4 separate regions of the Homo sapiens genome follow, and all the other regions are linked to region 1. The links are contacts of gene promoters, found by promoter capture Hi-C in blood cells and fetal thymus (Javierre and others, 2016). All regions are on one chromosome and are shown on one strand. Each heading gives the region's core, a stretch centred on a gene start or on the middle of the fragment in contact. The rest is flanking DNA. Distances are from core to core; before and after follow the strand shown.

Region 1 (3,164 bases), core at 332-2,831:
GCGGGGGGAGGGGGGAGCGGCTGTGAAAGTTGAGGAAATTGACAGACTGAGAGGTGAATGGGGGGACAGGCACCAGGTCCTGGCTGGAGGGAATTGGAAAACAAAAGTGCATCCTTCTCACCCTGCCTGGGTGGAGGGAATCCTGAGGGAGGTAGTTTGTTTTGCCCATGGAAACCCCAAAGAATTATTTTTCCCCCTTCAATGTTGATTGCAATATTATTTCACATTTCCGTGTATCTGTTGTTTTAATCTCTTTCGTCTGCGCTAATCTCGAAGTGGATTATTAATGGGGAAGACAGAGAAGGAGAGATTCATTTGCAGGACTTATTTTGCTGTGTGAGGAGCCGAAAGCCAGCAGCCCCCAGTCCTCTCTCGACTTTTCTCTGCGTCCTGTGCTCCTGCATCCTCCTGATCCCACGATCCCCATTGTCCCCGAACTGGCCCTCGGACTGAGGGAGTGTTCGGAACAAATTTATATTCCGGCTTCCTCCCGACCCCATCACCTCTGCCACGTTGGGAACTCTCTCGGCCAAATGCCTGGGGAGGGGCGTGCCAGTCAGGAACCAGGGGCAAGGCAACCTAGCCGCAGCGCTCACCCCTCGCGGAGACCCTTCCCGTGCCACCATCCAAATATCTACCTTCATGGGAACCTGGAAGACTGCTTTTTCACCCCAAATCAAATACTGGCTAGTCGGAACTCCCAGTGATAAATGTTGGGGACTGCCTCCTGCCACTTGAGCAATTCCTGAGTCCAGGGTAATCAGATGATTAGGTGTTTTTAATGGAAATACTTAGGGTTTTTTTTTTTTTTTTTAAGTCAGATCCTAAGTAACCTGACATTTAATATACATAATAAAGACAAGTGTTTTGTTAGCTATTCGATTGGATCCTTTGACCTGAGGTTATGCTTGTGTGTGTGTCTGGTCTGTAAGCCTCCAATGGCTACCTGGGTGCCTGAAGAGGAGTCTTGCCTGTAATAACTCTATGCAAAGGGCTCCTTCTTCCTTAGGAGTGGTGGAAGGGTGGCTGTAAAGCAAACGTCTAGAGAAAGCTGGATTCCAATCTTTTAAATTAAAAAAGAGGAAAAAAAGGAAGAGGAAGAAAAATGGACATGAACAGTGGTGCTAAATCTCAGAAGAGGAACTTGATAAGTCACACATATATTTAGTATAGATATATAATAATGAAAGAAATGTAAAATATAAAATTAAGAATGTGCCTGACCCATGTTGAAAATCTTTGATTTTATTTATTAATAATTTTTAAGCTGAAGATCCTGAATGCCTTTCTTCTATAGACACTTTATCTGTGATGGGGTGGGGGGAGAGAGTTAATTTATCCAGCAGCTATTTTCATTATAATAAATACTTAAATTAGGAAAGAGGTGAGTAACCAACTGTGAAAATCTACTTTCTTGCATCCTAGAACAAGATCTAGCTGTGGTCGTGCTAGGTAGCTATTAACCACCCCCACCCCACTCCCCCGCCCCGCAAAAAAAAATACAAAATACAAAGACGTATACCTCTGGGAGTGTGGATGTGGCAACCCATGTGGTGGCTTGTCCCTCCTTTGAGTGCAATTGCCAGTGACTCTTGCATTCAAAGTCTTGCTTTAGGCACACATTCAAAGCACAGTTCAAAGCAGTTTATCTTAATATAGTGTTGGATCAGGGTATTATTTGTTTCAGATTTCATCAGACTGGAAACAGGAGGGTGTAACATATTTAACAATATTAAAGCTTAAAAATTGGTGTGAGGCAGCTCTCTGGTCCTCTTAACACCTCCACCTTTACCTTTCCGAAGAATCCTAAATGCTGTGAGGCTAGAAGTTTATTTGTGCTCTGAGGTTCTCAAGCACTTTCACTCTTTAGGAAAAAAAAAAAAGTCTCACAGTTATTTAAGAAATTGAGCCTGAACCATCCGAGGATAGGAGATTTCTTCCTTTTCCGATAAATGCCTGTGCTCAGCATCCTCAAATTTGGCTGTCTTTATTTACTTCTATATTAGTTCCAATTATGTGCAGTGTAAACCAGCTTTTTGATTAACAAAACAGCAGAGCATTGGTTAAGAACACTTAAACTTCAAAAAAATTCCCCTGGGAAGTGGGCTCTGAATTGGTTAATAATGTGCAGTACTTGCTAAATTGCTGACTTCCAGATGTGGAAAATATCTTTCTTGTTTAGGACCTATGTAACCTGATTGGATTACGACAGAAGCGTCACGTTGGAAGCTTTTGAGTGATTATTTAATTAACCATACAGTAGAAAGCTGTATTCTCCAGGAAATCCCTTCCATATTTGCATAACCAATCCCTTCAGAGCAAAGGTGGAGTCTTTTCTTTTTAATCTTACTTTAATTGTAATATCAAAAAATATATACTCCAAAACTTAGACCCCATGCCGTTTAATATCATGCTCTCCCTTCCCTGCTAAGTTTCTCTATGGCCTTTCTCGTTTCTCCTCCTGCCTCCCTACACACTCTCCCTTACTTTGTAGTGAGGTCTCCCCGAGGTGTAGAGAGATTCAGAGATCGGCCAACCGAGTGTTCTATTTTAATTTACTTAGAGACCCTTTATTAAAATGCCAAACTACTTTTTAATATTGGGATCCAGTCCAGAAATTCATCATGCACACACCCTAATACACATGCCCTAAGATGCAGCTCCCATGCAGCATTTTTTTTTCTGGCTCTGGTACCTAAAAAGAAAAAAATAACAATAAGAGAAAGGGCAGAGAACTTTGTTCCAGAAGCTGTACTGAGATACCTACACAATTTGATGTGCATCTCAAATCTGGTCATTAGAGATATCTGTATAAGAAGAGACTATCTGGATTGAGGACCCGGGATCTTTCCCTTTAACTTTCGCCCCTTGGAGTTCTCCAGTTCTGTGAATGGTGTGCACCGTTTTCCGCCCTGTACTCTGTAGGATTTAGTGATGAGGATAATGATGCCAAAGGCTTGACGGGCGGGGAGGGGGGGGTGGAGGGGGGGAGAAGGGAGGGAGGGGGGAGGGAGGCGAAGGCGAAAGGGAGGGAGAGGAGGAAGGGAGGGAGGTGGAATTTCATTTCTTCCACTAAAGCGTTTGCGGAGACTTCAAGGTATAATCTATCCCAGATCCTTTCCCAGAGAGAAACTTGGCGATCACGTTTTCACATGATGCTCACG
Region 2 (3,164 bases), core at 480-2,979, 1.2 Mb before region 1:
AAGACTGATACAAATGGGTCTTTATATAATTGTATTTCTTAATTGATGATACATAATGTAATTCTTTATTGGGAAGGGGCTTCACCTGCCTCTAGGGAAGGGGTGTTGGTTGGAGAGACAGAGTGAAGCATGTGTAGGTTGCAGCCCCGGGCCCAGGGACTGACAGGTAGCTGTGTGAAAGGCCTCAGATCCTTTCCGGAGGCACCTAGTCCCCACTCCAGCTCCTCCCCCTCTTTAACCACAGCTCCAGAGCAAGTTTGTCTCTGCACATAGAGACTGGCCTCCGGCTGTAGCAGGTTGCAGGAACTGCCAATGTAGTGCATTGTTCTTGAGTTTCCACAGTCCTTCCTTCTCTATCTCCATCCTTTTACAGCAAGCATTTCTCCTCTTGTAAACAAACAAACAAACAAAAAGAAAGCAGTAATTATTTTTTCAAACACTTTCCTAATATAAGTTCTGGAAACATCTGCCTTCTTTCTACACTTTGTAAGCACAGGTTTGGGGTCCAGCAAGCGGTATTTTAAAAGGGCCATGATTATCTGGTACTAGAAACAGCAGCAGCAGCTCCTAATTCAGATCTTTTAAATCGGTCTTCTCAGAATACATACATTTGGAGTATTTGAAAACTTGGTCCTCTGAGGCCTGTTCCTTCTTCTCCCTGGATCTTACCTTTAAATGGCTGAAGATATAATGCCTCAGAGACTTAAGGTGAGTGGAGATAGATTTGCTAGGTCCCAGAGTAATCAGAAAGGCAAAATAGCTTTGTAACTCTGTCTCTCTCTGCATTATTCCCTGAAGAGCAGCTGCAGCAGAGTGTGGACCCCGTGTTTGCACATGGCAGAAACTGGGCTGCCTCACATTTAAGGCCTAAGTTAGCCAACTTGTCAATGAATGCCATTAGTGCAGACGGGCCACAGGCACTCAGGGATGGAGTGGCAGGCAAGCTCAGATCAGCTAAGGAAGAGCAGGCATCGGGTGGTAACAACTTTCAGTCATTACTGACCTGGGCTCTATTCAAACCAGTGACCTAGAAATGAAGGGCTCCAAATCCCATTACTAATTCCCCGAGCCATCAAGTCTCCCCTATGGCCTGGATCTTGTCCTGAAACCCAGGTCTCCTGTTGAAATAGCATTAAGACAGCAGCCACTGCGTTGGCAGGCAAGGTTTTTAAAATAAAGGGAGGGGAGGGAATGTGCACGTAGAGAGTTGGCTTTAATTATTACTTTAAAGTTTTTCAGCTCCTTTCAACCTAAAAACCTGAACCTTCTTTAAAGTCACATGCTTGCCAGCCAGCACAAAAATGGTGTTCAAACAAGCACAGCTTTTTTATTTTGTTTGAATGGTGAAAATACACAAGCCCCCTCCCAAATCAAGGAATAATGAGAGGAAACCAAATGAGAGGAAGTTGTTGGAAAGCAAAGAAAGAGATTAAATGAGTATTGCGAGGACAAGAATATTTACTGCCAAAATAAGAAAAGGAGCTAAATGAAAGCACCCTTAAGCCGCGTTCTTCCTCACTTCTTATCTCTCTGTCACTCTCTGAATCCCTCTCATCAAAGAGGGACAATTATTTTTAAGTAAAAATGTGGGATTTTTGTCAGTGAGGTGAAGCCCATGCAAAGTGAGCTGGATTAAAAACTGCATGTAAAGTTCTGTCTCGTGTTTTAAGCCAAAAGCTCCAACTTTACAAACTGTCCTGTAGATGGGGCTGTACTCTGCAATTCTAAGATCACTGCCTCAACAATGAAGCAATTGTTTCCTGTCTCCACTTAGCAATTCCTCCCTCTCTTTCAGTTCTTTCTGCTTGCATGTTCTATTTATTTTAATGTATACCTTTGTGTAGAGCCTGTCTCTGAGTGGTTAGATACCCCGTTGATATGTGGCCTTCAAGGGGGAAAAGGGAGTGCAGCCTATTCCCATGACATCCTAAGGCTTTGTAGAGCCAAAAAAACCTTCTCAGGAACACCTAATCCTTGGGCTCTGTCCAAGTACCACAATCTCTCTGTACAACTGACATGGGCCACTTGGGACACTTGAGAGTTTTAGGTGTGTCTCTCTGAAGTCAGCCCCGGCCAAGCATGAGGCAAATGTGCCCGACCAAAGAAAATAAATTATGTGGACTCCAATTTTCAGCAGTTATGAAGTATTGAATTACACATGCAAAGAATTCACTTTGGGATTAACCCTTTGGAACCGAAACACAATCTTGTCACAATGCCTGAGAAGGGAGCATGCTCTGAGTGAGGCCTGACTTTCCAAAGACACAGAGGTTGCTGACCAGGAGACAGAGATGCTCAATGCAATAAGAATGGAGATAAATGCAAATGTCTTATGTGGGCATGGAAGAGGGTATATGTCGGGGTTCTGCCCTGTCTCTGGATAGGCTGTTGCTGGCATTGTAAAGTTTAAGGATTCACTGCAAAGGCCACTTCAGCACTTAACGGGAATGCATCTTAGCATAATTCACACAGTCCCTGTGGCTGCTTCTTCATTCAGATTTAGAGAAGTGGTTGAAAGCCACTGGAACTTGACTGAAATCACAACTACAGAACCCCTGAAACGGCATTCATCCTCCATGACTCATTGAGCGATAGAAAAGGACATCCTGTCCTACCCCTTTAAGAATTCCTAGTTCCCCATAACCGTCTGAAGCACTAAGCTGTGAGTACACGACATAGCTGAAATTTAACACATAAACCCTGGAGTAGAAAAACAAAACAAGGCCATTTGTTTTCCCCTATAAAGCTATTTATTTACCAAATGACCATAGAAAGCAAACCTCCAACAATAACAGGAAACAATCAATCTTGAAAAACTTAGGGAAAAATTTTTTTGGAGCAAAGTTAACTTTTTAATAAAGTAGGTGTCTTGGGTATGCAAAGCAGGATGTCAGGAAACAGGCAACCTTGCCCCTCTTCCCCTCAGGTTATTATCAGAAAATGTGTGATCTACAGGAGGGACACTGTTTTGGGACTGATAAGCTGTGTCTACATAAAGATCCCTCACTTATTTCACATGTGCCCTGGAGGAAATAGAACTGTACAACGATATCCCTGGGAGACACTGTGGACCTCATCCACTGCCCTCATATTATCCAATGAAGAAACTGAGTTGCTCAAAGTTGCAACAGATACAGCTAAAAGCAGTAGGACATTTTATGTAA
Region 3 (3,164 bases), core at 495-2,994, 1.2 Mb before region 1:
AACCCAAACTGTCATTTTCTATAGCCTATACATGGATATTGAGAGGTTAGTTATTAATTCATTCAATAATAATTTACATGAGATTTGTCACTTATTATTTGGTAAAAGTCCAGTATGCTTTCTAGTAACAAGAGAAAATGAATGAAGGCATCTATAAGACAGCCGCCAAAGTACTTGTCATCTAAAGAATTGTGTGCTTTTACAAAATGTTTCTTTGAAATCCATAGTATGTTATACTAATATTAACATAATATGATAATACTGTATTTGCATATAACTATTAACATATAATGTCATGTAGTATACATTTGACACTTTAATATATCCTGTTATATTAATATTATATTAATATAGAAAATTTTAACATCAAAGTCTACAATTAAGAGAGCCTTTCAGCTGGAGCAGAATAAATAAATCCAAACTATGTGTTATCATTACATTCTTATCCATTCAATGTGTCTTGCCCCAGGATTATTTGGTTCCTCCAGTACAGACTATTCTACATACCAAGTGGCTTGCATTGAGATACAATGGCCATGTTCTCTTTCCAAAGCCATCAAAGAATAGCAACTCTCATGATGAATACTTAAACAATGCAGCACCTATGACCCTTGTGGCAATGGCAGATATAGAAAAAATACAGGAATAAATTCTCAGATTACCTTGAGAATCTGACAACTGACATTTGCAACAATGTTAATAATTCAGTTTTCAGATCCACACTGTCATGAGAGCCTCCAATGATGCTGCCACTTGCATGATTCATATGCTCTCTTCCCCAATACTACATGGAAACATGGAGCTTCACATTGCTGGGAAATCAGGATCCGTTTATCTCTACCAATCTCTTGTGACTGACAATTATCCATAAGAAAATTGGGTAGCAGTAACTCATTTGCAAGTTCTTCCACTTTGTGTCTTAAATTAGAAAAAAATGGGAGGCATATGTTTTGTTGCTTTGTTTCAGGAAATAGGATACAGAAAGTAGTAGAAATTAACACGATCAACTCTAAGAGGTCTAAAGCTTTAATAATATTATATTTGTACAAACTATTACTTAGTATTGACGAAATGTCTTGGGCTTTGCTTGACTCCCGATTCTTATTGCTAGTCAGAGGCAACACTAGTTTATTATCAGGACTTATTTTTAGCTTTGTCTCTGAGTTTTTTGTGAGATGAGTTGCGGTGATCTCATCAAACCCTAGTTTAATAATCACATTAAAATTCTTAGATTGTGTAGATGGTGACGTGTTTCATTTATAAAATTAGGATTCGTAAATGATAGTCTTAGTAAATTTATTATTCATATGCTTTATGCTATTTCAGAATAACATGAATACTAAAAAATTAAAAGTAAAACCATTAGCAACATAACCTTCAGCATATTTTTGTGATGTCAATAGAATATGCAAATATGCATTGTTAATAAAAATAACAATAGACACCTTTTAGAAAATAAGTATTAAAACTTCGGCACTTTGTATTTTTCTCTATTTCTTTTACTTTTTGATATTGATTGATTTTACCTTCTCATTAGCCAAACCCAGTCTATTTCTTACAATGAAACTTTAAGATAGGTGCTATTATCCTTATTTTACAGGTGTGAAAGATAACACTCAGAAAAGTGAAGTAAGCTTAAGTTCATAGAGTTAAAAGCCAGTGTAATCAGGATCCATACCTAATGTTATCTCATTCCAAATCCTGTGTGCATTATCCCAAGTCCTGTGCTTCCCACTATAGCATAGACAGTATGTAAGATGTACTGTAAGTGATATATTACATATGCATTGTGAAATGAAAATAATTATCTTACAACTCCAAACTCACTATGCCAAAGAGAATAGTCAAGCTTGGGAAACGAATAAAGTAAAACTGCCTCCCGTTTTGTTCCTAAATAGATAGCTACAAAGATAAAAGGCTACATACTTCCCCAAGGGGCCTCCCTTACAATTTGTTCAAAAAATAATTTCTTGTGGTTCCCAAGATTCCCTGAAACAGTCCTGTTGACTTTTACCCTGACAATATACATTAACAACTTATCTTCACAGGTATGGGACAAGGACAGGACTAGGAGTCATTACTCCATTCAACTGAGACAAATGCATGTTCGACTGCTTCCTCCACTCTATGTTTACTTTATCTTATGTAAAACTACAAATTCACTGAGCATAATTGACTATTCCTCGACCCCCTCCTTTCATTTGTAATATGTGGCTTCAGTGAAGGCTGATCAAAACCTTAAAAGAATGCAACAACTTGCTCCTTTTATCTACCCTCCCCATATTTTTTCTTTCCTCTTTCCCCTACTGCCCCCCTTTTTTCTCTTTAAATATTGAAGTCCTTAAATCCTCTTTGGAAAAAGCAGGAATCACAGATGTTTCTGTGATTTTTTGTTACGTTTTCCTTGGTGCATCTTCAACCTTGGTAAAATGAACCTCTAAAATGATTGAGACTCACCTCAGTAATTTTCTTTGATTTACAATATATAGAAAAGCAAGATTTCACATGTAAAATCTTTCCAGCATTATAACATGGATAGATTGAGGATTAAATGTGACAAGGTGCTTATTAAAATGTAAACCAAAATATTGTCATTCATATATGTATATATATGAATATATATACAATCATAGAATTTGTAATCCTTACAAGTCCATCATATAATATATGCTAGTTTAGTGTATAGGGTAATTAATCATATAAACTACATGCTATATATATGCTTTTATTAACTGCTTATGTGATCTTTACGCCACTGAGACGCCTAGAGGTCAAAGTTACTTATAATTTTATTGGCTTACTTTTCTTTTAATATAAATATGTATGAATAACAGCATTCACAAAAGAGTTATATTTCTATTATAATAAAATATTTCCAAACTACCAAATATTTATTAAGGTTATACCAGATAGCATACTTACTCTACTTTCTTGGTCAACAAATTTATTATGATTTTACCATTTAAGTTATGTTACTTGAAACATAACCAGGCCATTTGTGCTGTGTGCAAAAATTGACCAAAAAGTTAAAGTCACTAAGTATCATTTACATTATTTTGACACTCCATATGATGTTCCTTGTTGGGTGAAGTAGTGAGAAATACTAATATATTTCTATTGCTATAGATCCATTTTCTTCTCCAAGGAGAATATTCATGGTTCAA
Region 4 (3,164 bases), core at 176-2,675, 1.1 Mb before region 1:
ACAAGTAATTCAGAATGTGTAAAAAATACTTCCCTGGAAACTGTGTTTAAAGCAACCACATTTTCTGGATGAAAAAAAAAAAGCAATGAATTCAGAGGTGATACTGGTACATTTAATTTTTTTTATAATTCGTAAAACAGGTCAAGTGACTGATTTTTTTTTCTTCTTGATAAAAAGAAGAATTAAAAAATATGTACACATGCACATATATACATATTTCTTAATACTGGCAGAGACACATAAGGGAGTGTACCTGGATTTCAGTCCTAAATGATCTGTAATTTATACAATAAATTGCTCTTGTCGTCCTCTAGACTTGCATTTAGAGATTATTACTTCATTGTTAAATATTAACATTTCTCAATTTTTTGCTTCTTCCAGAAAACTGGCACTCTATTAAATACAAGCATTAGAAAGTGCTTTTGTATTCTACTATCCTCTTTGAGTTGAGGGTGATTGCATAATTAAAGCTGGCCTGAAATCAACCATATAAGAGTTGAATGAATACCAAGTCCAACTGGGGAGGATTTACCATATGAATGTTCCTTTCCTAAGACTAAAACACAGGTTAGATTTCCAAGTTTCAGAATGTTGCTCAATGAAAGAAATATGTTGCCCATGAGAAAAAAATAAATCAAATGGTGGTGCAATCTATAATCAAAGGCACCAATGGTCACAAAGCATTCAGAACAAAGGTTTGCTGAGCTAGCAAAGATGTGGAAAAAGTTTAATACATAATCCATTCTAAGTAAAAGGTCTTTATTACTAAAAGAATAGAAAAGCTTGTTGGTGGTGTATTTTCTTTTCGTTGTTGTTTTTGTTGTTATTTTTAAAAACCTCTAAACTAGTTTAAATAGATTAACTCTTTTTATAAAGGGAGACACTGTTTAGAATATGAAATATTTTGAGAAATTGAATAACATCCAGTATGCTATTTTTCACTCTAATTTCACAACCAAAAATACATTTCAAAAGAACTTTTCATTTTCTTTTCTTATTATATTTTTATTTAGGACTATTGCAAATTTTTGCCTCCTGGGTGCCTTGCAAGAAAAAGCAGAGATTCATCTCTGCTTGTTTAGTAGTTGGATTGCTTCTACAGAAAACATTTGATAAGCAGCATCAGTCCTGTAAAAGAATGCAGTGGTAGTATCTGCTTTCCCTAGACTTTAGACAGCAAGATAGAACAGTATCTGTGCATGGCAAGAAAAAAAGACATGCCTTATTTATTATTTTGTTCACAGGTAAAAGGAAATAAATGATATTTACATGAAAGCTGAATCCTTGTTTTCATTCCATGGCAAAATCCTTACTTGTTACTCAGCCTTAACACATTAAAAAAGAAGAAGCAAAACAAAAAGTGTGTCTGTACATGTGGCTTGCATATCAGCATTTGTGTGGGTGGTAAACAGTAAACCTGTGGGATGAGCAGAAGGAAGAAAATGGCCAGCATGCAATTTTAAGGAGGCATCTAAGAAACGTACAGATAAATAACTGATTGTTGTTGACCATGACAAGATAATGCATGCCATTTGCAAAAATTTTATTCTCCAAGTGACAGAAACAATTACGTTCCCCCTGAAGGAAAATAACAATATTTTAATATTATAAAATTTTAATGTTACATCTCATATAAGCCATATTTTGCTTTCTACAGAGGATATCTCAACAATAATAAAATATGTAATGATTTGGTCTGCAAATTGTGTTCCTATTCATGTTTTGCTCTGGCAAATAGGGACTGATATTCCTGAGGGCAAAGGGTGCTTTGCTGAATCTAAAGTGGTGCTTTCTTTGCTGAACCTGAAAGTTTTGCCACTGCGTAAATTTGCCTGGCCTAAGAAGAAAGGATTGAAATGCTCAGAGAATAAAGGGAGTCTGTAGGATTTGAATTCTGATGTTAATCTCCAAACACTTTTTCTTTCGGTTCCTTAAAATTCTCCGCAAAGTATCTTTCACTAGCTAGTTTATGCAGGAGTCTGTGTTCTAGACTGTGCCTGTTTTTAGCCAATCAGATGAATCAACTAGAACTGCTTCTTCTGTAAAATAAAGGGTGACAACAAGCTTTAATATTTCAGCAATGAGAGCAAACCATGGATGTACTTTACTATGGAAGTCTTCTGAAGAATTTAGAACCCTTCCCTAGCAAGTTTTCACCTTGACTGTTGTATGTACCATTATCAGGAGAATCAATTTCCTTGTGGTGCTGGTGTGATGTCGAGAGTAGAGCATGCGGGACATTAGGATGAGTGTATACTGGCCCTGGTGCTTTTTATAAATAGAGACATATCTACAGTAAATAAGAGAATACTTTCCTTCTAGAAGCATAATTACTTGAAGTAGAATGAATATGAGGTACAGGAACAGCAATCAGAATTTTAGAAAACTTGAGATTATGGCATGAAAAATATTTTTAATGTCCACTATGACCAAAATATCAGCAGAAGTGGGAGGGAATGAGAAAATCTTAATTTTGATGGGCTTAGCTCTGTTTATCTAACACATGAAAATCTCAAGTATGTGTTCAGAGGCCCTTTTGCAGACATGTGGCCAGGATCTGTAAATCCTGCTGAGAATGGTTTTGAGGAGCTGGGAGGCCAACATTAAAGCAGCTTCCCATGCTGCGTATTTTTAAAAAATTAGTATTATAAGAAAGGAGCACGGTGGATAGTATAATAGAAAGAACATTGTCTCGAGTCTCAGGAGGCCAAAGTCTAGTCCTGATTCAGTTTGTCAGTGAGTTTGTGGTGCTGGGCAATATAATTACACCTTTTGGAGTTTCAGTATCCTTGAGTAGAAAAAAGAATTTAGGGTGTCTAAGATCCTATTTCAGGAGCCCATATTTTTACACATCTAGGATTCATTCATCAAATGATCTTTATAAACCCCTAAGAACATTAACTTGTTCTCTTGGCATTTGCCTCTTCCACCAAGCCAATTGCCTTAGGGTAGTGAGATAGCAAGGAGGGATGGAGAGACTGGTTGTTCAAGGGTTCTAGGCCAGTGGTTTCCAGATATTGGAGATTTAATGTTCTGTATTCTAGCGGGCACACACTGGATGCTCTCCACATGATGCTGAGTCATTCTAGACTGTGGGAAGAAGCAAACTGAATGAAGGGTAAAAATACCAGACTGGGAAAAAGGAGTCCAGCCCTATAGTTCTT

What was found. Contacts are between HindIII fragments. The CHiCAGO score rates a contact against its expected background, and 5 or more counts as called.
Region 2: a fragment that was not itself captured here is called in contact with the fragment with the promoter of LINC01412 in region 1 in 5 of 17 cell types (M1 macrophages, M0 macrophages, megakaryocytes and 2 more); the score reaches 14.4 in M1 macrophages.
Region 3: a contact is called between a fragment that was not itself captured here and the fragment with the promoter of LINC01412 in region 1, in 2 of 17 cell types (M1 macrophages and erythroblasts). The highest score is 6.2, in M1 macrophages.
Region 4: a contact is called between a fragment that was not itself captured here and the fragment with the promoter of LINC01412 in region 1, in 3 of 17 cell types (M1 macrophages, M0 macrophages and M2 macrophages). The highest score is 12.2, in M1 macrophages.

What each region holds. Positions count from the first base shown.
Region 1 is chr2:144,520,285-144,523,448 of GRCh38, reverse strand. It overlaps LINC01412 (long intergenic non-protein coding RNA 1412), which reads right to left and starts at 1,581. Exons shown (of 3, transcript NR_110570.1): 1 at 1,523-1,581. ZEB2-AS1 (ZEB2 antisense RNA 1) reads right to left here. Exons shown (of 4, transcript NR_040248.2): 3 at 3,164; 4 at 2,550-2,695. The HindIII fragment of the contact is 4,746 bases long and covers 1-1,740 here.
Region 2 is chr2:145,751,211-145,754,374 of GRCh38, reverse strand. No RefSeq gene overlaps it. Among named protein-coding and RNA genes, the nearest start is that of LINC01966, 870 kb to the right of the region's middle. RefSeq lists an enhancer at 2,291-2,340. The HindIII fragment of the contact is 6,682 bases long and covers 1-3,164 here.
Region 3 is chr2:145,734,558-145,737,721 of GRCh38, reverse strand. No RefSeq gene overlaps it. Among named protein-coding and RNA genes, the nearest start is that of LINC01966, 850 kb to the right of the region's middle. The HindIII fragment of the contact is 215 bases long and covers 1,637-1,851 here.
Region 4 is chr2:145,595,411-145,598,574 of GRCh38, reverse strand. No RefSeq gene overlaps it. Among named protein-coding and RNA genes, the nearest start is that of LINC01966, 720 kb to the right of the region's middle. The HindIII fragment of the contact is 1,282 bases long and covers 785-2,066 here.